Linked DNA regions of Homo sapiens: regions 2, 3 and 4 are each linked to region 1. Evidence: promoter capture Hi-C in 16 types of primary human blood cells and fetal thymus (Javierre and others, 2016). All regions are on one chromosome and are shown on one strand. Each heading gives the region's core, a stretch centred on a gene start or on the middle of the fragment in contact. The rest is flanking DNA. Distances are from core to core; before and after follow the strand shown.

What was found. Contacts are between HindIII fragments. The CHiCAGO score rates a contact against its expected background, and 5 or more counts as called.
Region 2: a fragment that was not itself captured here is called in contact with the fragment with the promoter of ERMARD in region 1 in 8 of 17 cell types (endothelial precursors, total B cells, monocytes and 5 more); the score reaches 8.4 in endothelial precursors.
Region 3: a contact is called between a fragment that was not itself captured here and the fragment with the promoter of ERMARD in region 1, in 1 of 17 cell types (activated CD4 T cells). The highest score is 5.8, in activated CD4 T cells.
Region 4: a fragment that was not itself captured here is called in contact with the fragment with the promoter of ERMARD in region 1 in 16 of 17 cell types (monocytes, total CD4 T cells, M1 macrophages and 13 more); the score reaches 19.3 in monocytes.

Annotation. Positions count from the first base shown.
Region 1 is chr6:169,750,177-169,753,108 of GRCh38, forward strand. ERMARD (ER membrane associated RNA degradation) reads left to right here and starts at 1,446. Exons shown (of 18, transcript NM_018341.3): 1 at 1,446-1,487. The coding sequence starts at 1,482. It overlaps DYNLT2 (dynein light chain Tctex-type 2), which reads right to left and starts at 1,396. Exons shown (of 4, transcript NM_174910.3): 1 at 1,163-1,396. The coding sequence starts at 1,282. The HindIII fragment of the contact is 8,653 bases long and covers 1-2,932 here.
Region 2 is chr6:170,520,380-170,523,391 of GRCh38, forward strand. No RefSeq gene overlaps it. Among named protein-coding and RNA genes, the nearest start is that of PSMB1, 31 kb to the right of the region's middle. The HindIII fragment of the contact is 3,242 bases long and covers 1-3,012 here.
Region 3 is chr6:170,277,726-170,280,425 of GRCh38, forward strand. LINC01624 (long intergenic non-protein coding RNA 1624) reads left to right here. Exons shown (of 2, transcript NR_104177.1): 2 at 1,484-1,744. Among named protein-coding and RNA genes, the nearest start is that of LINC01624, 6.6 kb to the left of the region's middle. The HindIII fragment of the contact is 1,685 bases long and covers 550-2,234 here.
Region 4 is chr6:170,537,688-170,540,463 of GRCh38, forward strand. All of the region lies in intron 4 of PSMB1 (proteasome 20S subunit beta 1), which reads right to left. Among named protein-coding and RNA genes, the nearest start is that of PSMB1, 14 kb to the right of the region's middle. The HindIII fragment of the contact is 302 bases long and covers 1,250-1,551 here.

The sequences.
Region 1 (2,932 bases), core at 196-2,695:
ACTTCAGACCTCAGATAGGCAGTAAGTTTATAAAAGCCACCCTTGTCTGCCTCAATATATAGAAATTTTTCTTTACTGTTGGTGACCTGTTACTCAGACTCATTGCCAAGAAATACAGCATAGTGTTTGGGAGTGTGAAGTTTTAAGTCCAACTGATTTAGGTTTCTAGCCCTGCTCTGCTCTTTTTCTTAGCTGTGTAAACTTGGCCTGTTTGCTTTTCCTCCTTTATTTAGTTCGTTCTTTCCTCTGTAAAATGTAGACACCAGGGAAACAAGAACCTGAAATTTCGCCATTATTTTGAGAATTCTCTTTTTAAGAGTAATCTTAAAATGTTTTAGGGTCTTCAAAAAATTGTTTTGCCTGTCATCTCTATCTTCATCCTATTATAGGTCCACGAAGTAAGTACGAAGAGAAACCAGTATAGGCCAATTGGACCGAGTACTAGCATACAGGTTCTGGTCCCAGCTCTATCATTACAGCTTTGTATCCTTGGGCAAACTAATTTTCTGTTAAAGTATCAATAAAATATAGAGTCTTTAATACATTAACGGTTTTCAAAGCCTAATCATATAGAAATACCTGTTATACCACCAATAAAACTGAATAATGACCCTTTCCATCAATATCAGTAAGTTTTGGACAGGGTATTTTCAACTTAAGTTTTTTTCTCCTGTACATTCTTCAAATATCCAGACTGCTGATGTTTTAAAAACCCAAAACATGGCACTATTCTGCCTGGTTTATCAAATTATTTTTTTAATACAACACACTCATTTTTCGCTAGCAAAACTGCTTATAATGGCACTAAATACACTAACATACTGTGTTTTAGTACAAAGCAATAATACTCAGAGTACTCTCAGGAAATCCGCAAGCTGAGTAAATTTGAAAAGAAGATCTTGTAACCACCCTTCCAATCGACTTATGTAGGGTTCTATGGCCCTAATTAAAAAACAAGAAAACTTTAGCACTCAAGTCCAAAGGGGACTGCCCAACTCAGTCTCAGGCTTCAATTTCGCATCTGGGGAAAAAAGAAACACAAAAGGGAGATGCTGCCTCCTTGGCTCTGGGGGTGGTGACGGGAGCGGGGCCCACTGGGGAGCGATTTCACTTAAACGGTCGGACATAGCCGTCTCGGGCCCCTAGCAGTCTCCGCACTCACTGCCTCCTTCTCGAACATGCTAGGCCTCCTTTCTTTCCTAGGCGTCACCGGAGCCTGCTGAGGGGTCTGGTTCGGGGTCTGGATGGGGCTCGACTTCACGCCTCGGCCTCGCTTCTCCATCTCGCTCTGTTCTCCAAGACGCCCACCGCCTCCCCTTCACCGCCGGCGGTCAAACGCCCTAGCCAGTCCCGCGAGGGCGGAAGTCTCCCACCTGCGCCTCGTACGGTAGGAAGTGCCCGCCAGGGCTCCAAAGCGCCTGGAGGAGGGGCGCGCAGGCGCCTGCGTCATTCACGCGCGCCGCAGCGGGGCACCGGAAGTTATGGAGGTAGGGCGGGTGTAGGGCCCGGTTCGATCCCGAGCTAGGCAGGGAGTCGGCGCCAGGCTGGGTGGTGCTCGGCTACGCGGAGTGGGCGAGCGAGCACGCGCCTGCGGTGGCCGGCGGTCCCGCGCTGGAGGGCGCTGGCGACGTCGCGGCCCTGGCCTCTGTGGCGGTATCGGACGCTCGGCCCTGCAAGACGCCTGGCGGGCCCTGCCGGCCTCCCTGGGCCAGGCTCGGTTTCTCCGTCGCCTCCTGGCCCTGAGCTGGAACGCGGCGGACGGTCAGGGAGGGCTGTGCGCGGTGGCGCGGGGGCGGAAAGCCGCAGGTCGGGCTCTCACCTGACCGTGGCTCGTTCCTAGAAGCGCAGTTTCCTAGTCGCTGCCTGTAGGGTCCACACTCGGACAGTAAATTTGTGTTCATCGCCGGGCGTGGTGGGGCCTGTGGTCCCATCTACTCCGTAGGCTGAGGTGGAAGGATCGCTTTAGCCCAGGAGGTGGAGGCTGCAGTGAGCCGAGATCGCGCCACTGCACCCCTGTCTGGGCGACGGCGAGACCCCGTCTCCAAAATGATGATAACGATAACTACCATTTTTGAGTACTATGTGCTAGATGCTTTTCATGTGTTATCTGATTACTGTAGCCCTACCAGGTGCAGCCTGGCACCGTTTTATTTCACTTAGAACTGAGATTCCGATAAAGTAACTTTTCCAAGGCAAGAGGTAGTCAGAGGCTGAGGAATGATTCAAATTTAAGTCCAGCTCCAAAGCACCGGCCCAGTGTAGTCTGCAGAGTTCCAGCCCCATAGAGCCACATGGAGGATGCGAGTGACAATCGCCAATCAACAAATAGTTGATGTAGATTTCTTTAGTGATGACTTAATTGTTAGGGCCTGCTGGGATTGTTCGAAAACCAGGGCTGAGAGTGGAAAGTGCAACTTCTGGGTGCAGGAGGAGCAAACAGGGCAACTGATAGCAGTTTCCACATTAGGAAGCTGCCCAGAGCTAATTATGACTGTCACAACACAGCCCCCCCTTAACTCAACACACCAAAATAAAGAGCTTCGGTTCCGCTTTAGATCCTGAATTTGACTTCTTTGCAGGTTTATACGATGGTCTTAGTGTCATGTGGGGTAATTGTGAGGATTTCGATTGTATTTAATTCTCCATGGAAAACCAGTACGGTTTGCTACTTTTTACATGGCAGGGAAGGCTAAACTTTACCTCTGCCCATCTTAGTTCGGAGTGACCCCTTTAACAAATGAAAGGATAACAAGAAAAAAGTTTATTCTTGGACAGAGTACACATCACAAGGGATAAACCTTAATGAGAAGTAACTTGAAATGGTGGCTTAGAACTACATTTGTATACCATCTTCAACAAAGAACTGTAGATTTGCAGAGAAGTGACAGGACACAGGAGAGCAGTTTTAGGCTTCAAAGGGCAGGAAATTGGG
Region 2 (3,012 bases), core at 256-2,755, 770 kb after region 1:
CACTGAATAGCCAAAAAACTAGAACCATTCCCCTTGAGAACTGGAACAAGATAAGGATGCTCACTCTCACCACTCCTATTCAGCATAGTACTGGAAGTGGTAGCCAAAGCTGTCAGGCAAGAGAAAAAAATAAAAGACATACAAATAGGAAAAAAAGAAGTCAAATTATCTCTCTTAGCAGATGATATGTTTCTATACCTAGAAAACCCTAAATACTCCACCAAAAGGCTCCTAGAATTGATAAACAATTTCAGTAAGGTTGTAGAATACAAAGTCAATGTATAAAAATCAGTAGCATTTTTATACACCAATAACATTCAAGCTGAGAACCAAATCAAGAACATGATCTCATTTACAACAGCCACAAAGAAAATAAAATACCTAGGAATACATCTAACTAGGAGGTGAAAGATCTCTACAAGAAGAACTACAAAACACTGCTGAAAGGAATCATAGATGATACAAACAAATGGAAAAACATTCCCTACCCATGGACTGGAAGAATCAGTATCATTAATCTGGCCATACTGCCCAAAGTAATCTACAGATTCAATGCTATTCCTATCAAACTACCAATGTCATTTTTCAAATAACTAGAAAAAACTACTGTAAGATTCATATGGAACAAAAAAAAATCCAAATAGCCAAAGCAATATTAAGCAAGAAGAACACAGCCAGAGGCATCACATTATCCGACTTCAAACTATACTATAATACTACAGTAGCCAAAATAACTTGGCACTGGTACAAAAACAGACACATAGACTAATGGAACAGAATACAGAACCCAGAAATAAAGCCACACACCTACAGCCATCTGATCTTCAACAAAGTCAACAAAAATAAGCAATGGGGAAAGGGCTCTCTAAACAATAAATGGTGCTGGGTTCGCTGTCTAGTCATACACAGAAGAATGAAACTGGATTCCTACCTTTCACCGTATACAAAAATTAGTTCATGTGGATTAAAGATTTAAATGTAAGACCTCAAACTGTTAAGAATCCTAGAAGAAAACCTAGGAAAAACCATTCTAGACATTAGCCTTAGGAAAGAACTTGTAATTCAGTCCTCAAAAGCAATTTCAACAAAAACAAAAATTGACAAGTGGGACATAATTAAAGGGCTTCTGCACAGCAAAAGAAACTATCAACAGAGTAAACAGACAACCTACGGAATGGGAGAAAATATTCAAAAAACACACATCTGACAAAGGTCTAATATCCAGAACCTACAAGGAACTTAAACAAATGAACAAGCAAAAAACAACCCCATTAAAAAATGGGCAAAAGACATGAAAAGACGCTCCTCAAAAGAAGACAGACATGCAGCCAACAAACGCAAAAAAATGCTCCATATCACTAATCATCAGAGAAATGCAAATCAAAACCACAATGAGATACCATCTCACACCAGTCAAAATGGCTATTACTAAACAGTCAAAAAACAACAGATGCTGTGATGCTGTGGAGAAAAAGGAATAATTATACACTGTTGGTGGGAAGGTTAATTAGTTCAGCCACTATAGAAAGCAGTTTGAAGAGTTCTTGAAAAAGTTAAAACAGCACTACAATTTGGCCCAGCAATCCCACTACTGGGTATATATCCAAATGAAAACAATTCATTCTACCAAAAAGACACATGCACTGGGCACAGTGGCCCACGCCTGTAATCCCAGCACGTTGGGAGGCCGAAGTTGGAGGATGACCTGAGGTTGGGAGTTTGAGACCAGCCTGACCAACATGGAGAAACCTTGTCTCTACTAAAAATACAAAATTAGCCAGGTGTGGTAGCGCATGCTTGTAATCCCAGCTACTCAGGAGGCTGAGGCAGAAGAATTGCTTGAACCCAGGAGGCAGAGTTTGCACATCATTGCACTCCAGCCTGGGCAACAAGAGCGAAACTCTGTCTCAAAAAGAAAAAAAGACATGCACACACACATTCATCACAGCACTACTGACAATAGCAAAGACATGGAATCAACCTAGGTGCCTATCAACAGTGGATTAGATAAAGAAAATGTGGTACATATACACTATGGAATACTATGCAGTCATAAGAAATGGAAATGGACAGAGAAAAAGAAGGCGGGGGACGGGATCAGAGGCAGCTTCACAGAGAGGCACACTTGAGTCAAAACTTGACTCACGTTTGAAAGATGAATGTGAGTTTCCAGGCATATGGGAGCTAGGGGTGCATGGAGGGGTTGTGGGTCCCCGCTGGGAAAATAGCCTGTAAGGCATAACAGGAATAACTGTGATTCACTGAGGACGTACTGTGTTAGGCACTGGAACAAGAGCTTTACAAACATTATCTCATGTACTCTTCACTGGGTGCCTATGAGGAAGGTACTATCATCCACATTTCATAAGTGAGGGAGCAAGGCCTACGGACTTCCACTAACTGCCTGAGGCCACACAGACAGGAAGAGATGGGGTAGGCCTGATTCTCTGTCTTTTGGATTCCAGAGCCTACAACCACTTCAGTATCTTTGGGCAACGATAAGCAACTTGCTGTTGCCAGAAAAGTGAGGGTCAGAGACCCTTAAAAGTGAGGGGAGGTGACCAGCCTCTGACAGTACACGTAGCAGAGGAGCTTGGCTGCCTCCCGTAGGCTGTGGTGGAGCACAGCGGCCTGAGTAGCATGGGGAGAAGCCTAACCTGCCTTTCCATTGCTCACTCTGGCAGCCTGTGAGTGCGCAGCCCCGGACAGGAGCCCATCCCAGGGACTGGCTGCACAGCTGTTCTGCAAAAGTAAAGAAACCACGTCTCCTCAGTCCTTACACCTGACTTCTTGTAAATGTCCAGTTCTTGTTAGGTTTTCTAACATATCGCCCCTGGACTCCTGTTCTAACCTGATGTCTTATAAACATTCAGGGCTCCTTGGAAAACCCAGGGTTTCTCTGAGGCCCCAAGTCATCCACCTGCTGAGTGAGCCCTGCTCAGATGCATTCTGGAGGGAAAAATCACATAAATTCCCTTCCAATCTATAACTCTTCTTAAAGTCTTCCTTAAT
Region 3 (2,700 bases), core at 142-2,641, 530 kb after region 1:
AGTGTAATCATGACGAATAAACTGGGGGTTTCATGATATTTCTGACACCTGTTTGACTACAGAGACACTGAACTGTCCTCTGCCAGGTCCAGCCTGGGCTCTAGAGCCTGCGTCTGAGGCCCCTGCCCCACTCGTTGGGAGCAGCTCCAGGGCTCCCCCACCTCCCTTCCCTCTCCTGTTTCAAAAGTATTGACTTTGAGGATCAGAAATGGTCCTAACTGTTGCTTTTTCATTTTAACTAAAACTCTCAAATTTAGAGTGTTTTTCCCTTTTCAATACACCTTTTTAATATTGCTTTTTTTTTTTTTTTTAAGATGAAGTCTTGCTCTGTCCCCCAGGCTGGAGTGCAGTGGCGCAATCACAGCTCACTGAAGCCTCGGCCTCCTGGGCTCAAGCCGTCCTCCTGCCTCAGCCTCCTGAGTAGTTGGGACCACAGGTGCCACCAGCACACTCAGCTAATTCTTTTAAAATTTTTTTGTAGAGACAAGATCTAACTCTGTTGCTTATTGCATTTTTTTATTTCAAATGTTTATACCAAATTTTTTTCTAAGCTTCTAAGAAAGAGCTGAAATTCACAAAATCCAATTCATACTAATTCTAGAAGAAACAATACTTGCCCTTCTGCAGGTGAGCAATTCCTATTGTAAGCGTCTGACACCAGACGCCCTTCCCCCCTTCTTCCTTCCTTCCTCTCTCCCCCCACAGGTCAGGGTGGGACAGCGCAAGAGAGAAAGTTGGAGACACCACGAATCCCGTCACAAACACTCTTAGGCCACTTCCATAAAAGTGTAAGAGGTTCTAGGCATCAGGCTAAAGTACTGCTGTTGAGGTCCATAATGTCTACACCAGGGTGCCACTTGGGGGTTTGGCAAGGCAGGCTGAGGAGCAGGAAGTAGCAGATTCTGATCCTGTCTCTGAAAAGTGATTTTATTTGTTGAATATCCCAGCACTGAGCTGTGAATTAAGATTCACTAAAGGAATCAAGGTTCTTGTAAAATATCCAGGACCACAAAGCAGAGATATTTTTCCTTATGGTTCAATAATTTTAAAGTTCAAATTAACTTAAAACAGTAACATGCTTTTCGTGAATGGTGCTTTGACCATGGGTTTAGACACCGAGGAAGCAGAGGAAGTTGGTGCACAGGAAACAGCCTGGGAGGCCCTTGGCAGCTGAGGCACACGTCTGCACCTCTTGCCATGGAAGGTTGGCTTGTCTTCTAAAAATCGTATCCGAGGAAGATTCTACCACTTCCTCGATAAACCACTGACAGCCTTGAAGTTTTCTTCATGCCTCGATCCAACGAGAATGCCCTGTCCTGCAATTTTAGATGATTTCCTCTTACACTGACCTTATTTTCTTTGAGAACGTAATTAATGACATGAGTCTTGTCATTTTTCTTTTCTGTGCTTTAAAAAAAACAAAAGGTTCTGATGCTCATGTTGCAATACATTTTAAAATGCTGCTTCATTCTGCCTTCCTCAGGTACCTCACTCCGGATTCTATTAAAATCGTAATCTCTAGAAGATGGATTCAGCAAATGCCAGGCGTGGAGCCATGAATGTTTCCATAAGAAACAAGAAAAATAGAAAGAATGTGTGTTAGCCAGACGACACCTTGATGGCACCCCTGCCACCTCCCCAGCCCTCCTCAGTGGCAAAGTGATTTAGCTCAGTTGGGCTTCTCCAAAATGGAAATAGTCACTTGTTTGAGCAAATAAATGTAATGAAAGTTGTTCCGGAAAAATTCTAGTACTCTGCACTAATACATATCATCTTAAAAACTTATCTCTGAATTGTTTCCAAATGACAAATGTGTAAAGTTTCTAAGTACTTTTTGTTTCCTTATCCTTGTAGTGGAAGATACTACATTCAACACAGACGTACTGTGTGCCTCCTGCGTGTGAGGCCTGGTGCTCATGGCGCGTGTCCTTGCATGCAAAATTCTACTCTTCATCTTGACGTTTCTAGACATTCAGCTGTTCCTCAGGAAACGATTTACCTTCCCTCTGCCTTTTCTGTAAAATGCATGGACTGAGGAATTACTAATGCATAACACTTTGTTTGCTGGATACCAAGTAGACGCACTCTTACCATATACAGGGCTGTATCTAGGCAGCCAGTTATTAGAATAAAAACAGAATACTATGTTCATCCGCTCAGATAATCCCTGTGTTTGGCTTCATGTTATGGTTCGAAACTCCTAGTGACATTGGTAAGAGTGAACACGAGAATGAAGCTTCTTTCATGATGAAATGTCCTGAGTGTGTGTCTGTGTGTTCTCAAATTATAGCTCACATGGATAGAGAACGTTTTCTTGCTTCAGCCTCAAGTGGGGATTGGGTTGCAGTGGTGAACCAGGGCCAACACAGCCCGCCCTCTTTGAGGTTGCAGTCTCCTGGGACACACGCCCACTAAACAAACAGCTACACGAATTAATCATGCCACAGGGCAAACTGCAAGAGCACCATCACGTGCGGCAGGTAACCCAGGCGGGTCATTTTCGTGGCGGAAGAAGGTCACACTGGAAGTCACCAGACAGATGGAAGATCCCACTCAAAGTCGCAGAGTGGGGGCGGATGGAGAACCAGGCTGCCAGGGCGCTGGCTGGAGCCGAGCGGTAACAGACCCGTGGGAGAATAACGAAACGAGGCTCCAAGACAGGCGGGAGCCGGATGGTGCATGACCTGAGAGGCCAAGTCA
Region 4 (2,776 bases), core at 151-2,650, 790 kb after region 1:
TCTTCAGGTAAAGATGACAAGAGAATTAACCACTGCAGATGTAAAACAGTTGGAAGCCATGAGAATACACAAAAATAATCCAAGCCATGGTAGTAGGTAAGGACCCGTAAGAGAGTAGGGAGAACACAGAGAGAGATGGTGAGGTTTCTGTAGGACACATCAGCCAAACTCAAACAGTCATTTGTAAGAAAGTCTTTATTTCTTGGCTCTCCTAAGCTAACGAAGAGGAGAACTTGAAGGAAAGCACGACTTATGTATATAGACAGGTCCAAGGGACACATCCGCAAGACACAGTAAAACGAAGAGAATTCTGTAACCTGTAAAATACGATACTGCTTTTGTTTAAAAGAATAAGAAAACTATTTGTACAAGCACAAAAAAGTCTGGAAAGATAAGTAACTGTGGCTGGTCATCTTTGAGCTCTGAATTAGAGGCAAGAAAAGAAGGGAATTAATTCATGTGCTTCTATCTTATTTGAGTTTGTTACAAAGAACACAGGTGATTCTACAATCGTTAAAAAGGCCTGTTAAAAACAACCGTGTTCTGGGTATGAGAAATCACGAGTCATTTACAAGGTATGATTTTTTAAAAACATAACTGATTTAGAAAACACATTATATACCAGAACTCAGTACCCTGGGAGATGTGATATAGGGACAATCTCCTTACTAACCATGTACAACTGCCACTGTTAGCTTTGTATGTTTTCTACTATAGAACTGCGTAAACTTGGCCAGGCGCGGTGGCTCACGCCTGTAATCCCAGCACTCTGGGAGGCTGAGGTGGGCCGATCACGAGGTCAGGAGTTCGAGATCAGCCTGGCCAACACAGTGAAACCCCATCTCTACTAAAAATACAAAAATTAGCTGAGCATGGTGGCACGTGCCTCTATTCCCAACTACTTGGGAGGCTGAGGCAGGAGAATCGCTTGAACCCAGGAGGCGGAGGTTGTGGTGAGCCGAGATCATGCCACTGCACTCCAGCCTGGGCAACAGAGCGAGACTTGGTCTCAAAAAAAGAAAAAGGATTGTGTAAACTGAATTCTCTGGTGGAGAAGGCACCATCTGAGGTCACCTAAGAAACTGGGAAGTATTTTTGCTGGAAGCAAGCTTGGGACAAGACATGAGATCACAGCAGGCAATCCACTAACCTCAATATACAAAAAAAGAAAGAGATGTAAGGTGTAAAGGCAGAAAAATGATTGTATCTCTCATGAGGATGACAGGCCACAAGTAAACTGAGGCCCAAAAGCTTTACCCAAGGATGGAACCAATCTCAGAAAACCACACACAACAAATTTAAAAAAATAAACCAAAGAAAGGGTGGGCTATGTCCAAGAACACAGCTTTAAAGACCCCCTAGAAGAAGCAAGAGAGACACTAGTAAAATCAGTATAAAACAGCAAAAATCAATAAATAAAAACAAAAATAAATGTAGAATGGCATGAATCTTGATTACAAAGTGCTTTTCCTCATCAAAGTAAAATCCAAAAAGCACAATCATTTCAATGTAAAAAATAAAATCAGACAAGTCTTAAAAGAAATACAGCTAAGCTTTGGATGGGAGAAGTTTTTCTAACAAGGCAAGAAACTGAATGTCATAAAGAAATGATTGACAGATTAGACTGTATGAAACACAGCAATTTCTGTGTAGCAAAAGGCACCACCCAAAAGAGACAAATAACACTCTTGGGAGTATCTATAATATCACAGACATTTGACACAGTCGAATGTAGTTCTTGAAAATCAGTAAGAAGAAAACTAACCTGCAAATAAGGAAATGGGCAACAGTTAATATATGAATCAGTCTCCAAAGAGGAAATTTATAAAGTCAATAAACATATGAAAACATGCCCAAGAATATATATAAATGAAAATAATAAACTGTTCAATAGGCAAAAAGATGTTTCAAAATGTGTTAATTCTAATACTGGGAAGGTTATATAAAATCGGGTACTCAGGGTACTGGCGTATCCTTCAGAAAGAGTATACTCAACAAAATACAAAAAAAAATTTATCTGACCCAATACTTCAACTACTCGAAGTTTATTCTAGCAAGACAAGCATAATTGGGGAAGTACACAAAAATGTATGTACAAGGATGTTCATCATAGTGTTTATATTAAGAAAACAGGAAGCCAAAATGCCCTTTAGAGGACTGGTTAGGTAAATGATGCTATGTATTACAGCAGCAAAAACAGAAGACAAAAAAATTTTTTGTTAATTAAATACAAAAATCATTATGCATATAGCTTAGATCTCCTTGATAATACATAATGTATAGTTACAGAAAAACAGATACCAAAGTCCTACTTACATAAAACTGCATGAGTGTATGTATAAACATGTACTGATTGTTTTCACTACAGAAAAACTAAAGCCACTTTTAATTTGGGAGAAAAATTTTTAAAAGGCATGAGAGCAGCTAAGAGATTAAAGACAGAGAGGTTAGTGCAGACAGCGGTTGACACCAAGGGAAAGAGCTGTGGACCTTGCTGTCCTGAAGGTTTCAATATGGAGCACTGCTCTCCAGGTCCCTGCATCCACCAACACAGAAGACAGTAAAGGAAGTCTCCTGAGACATTAGCAGAGGCTCTGGACTTAGGGGACCAGGCTCTAGAGTGGCAAAGGGTAGGAGCAAAACACATGAAATGGAAAGTTGATGTAAACAAAACACAGACCTTCAGCCCCCTTCCTCCTCTGAGGCCTAAAAAGCTGCCAACCGGGCTTCTCTTCCTGTAGTCCCACCTCACCTCAGGAAAAAAGATTAAAGAAAT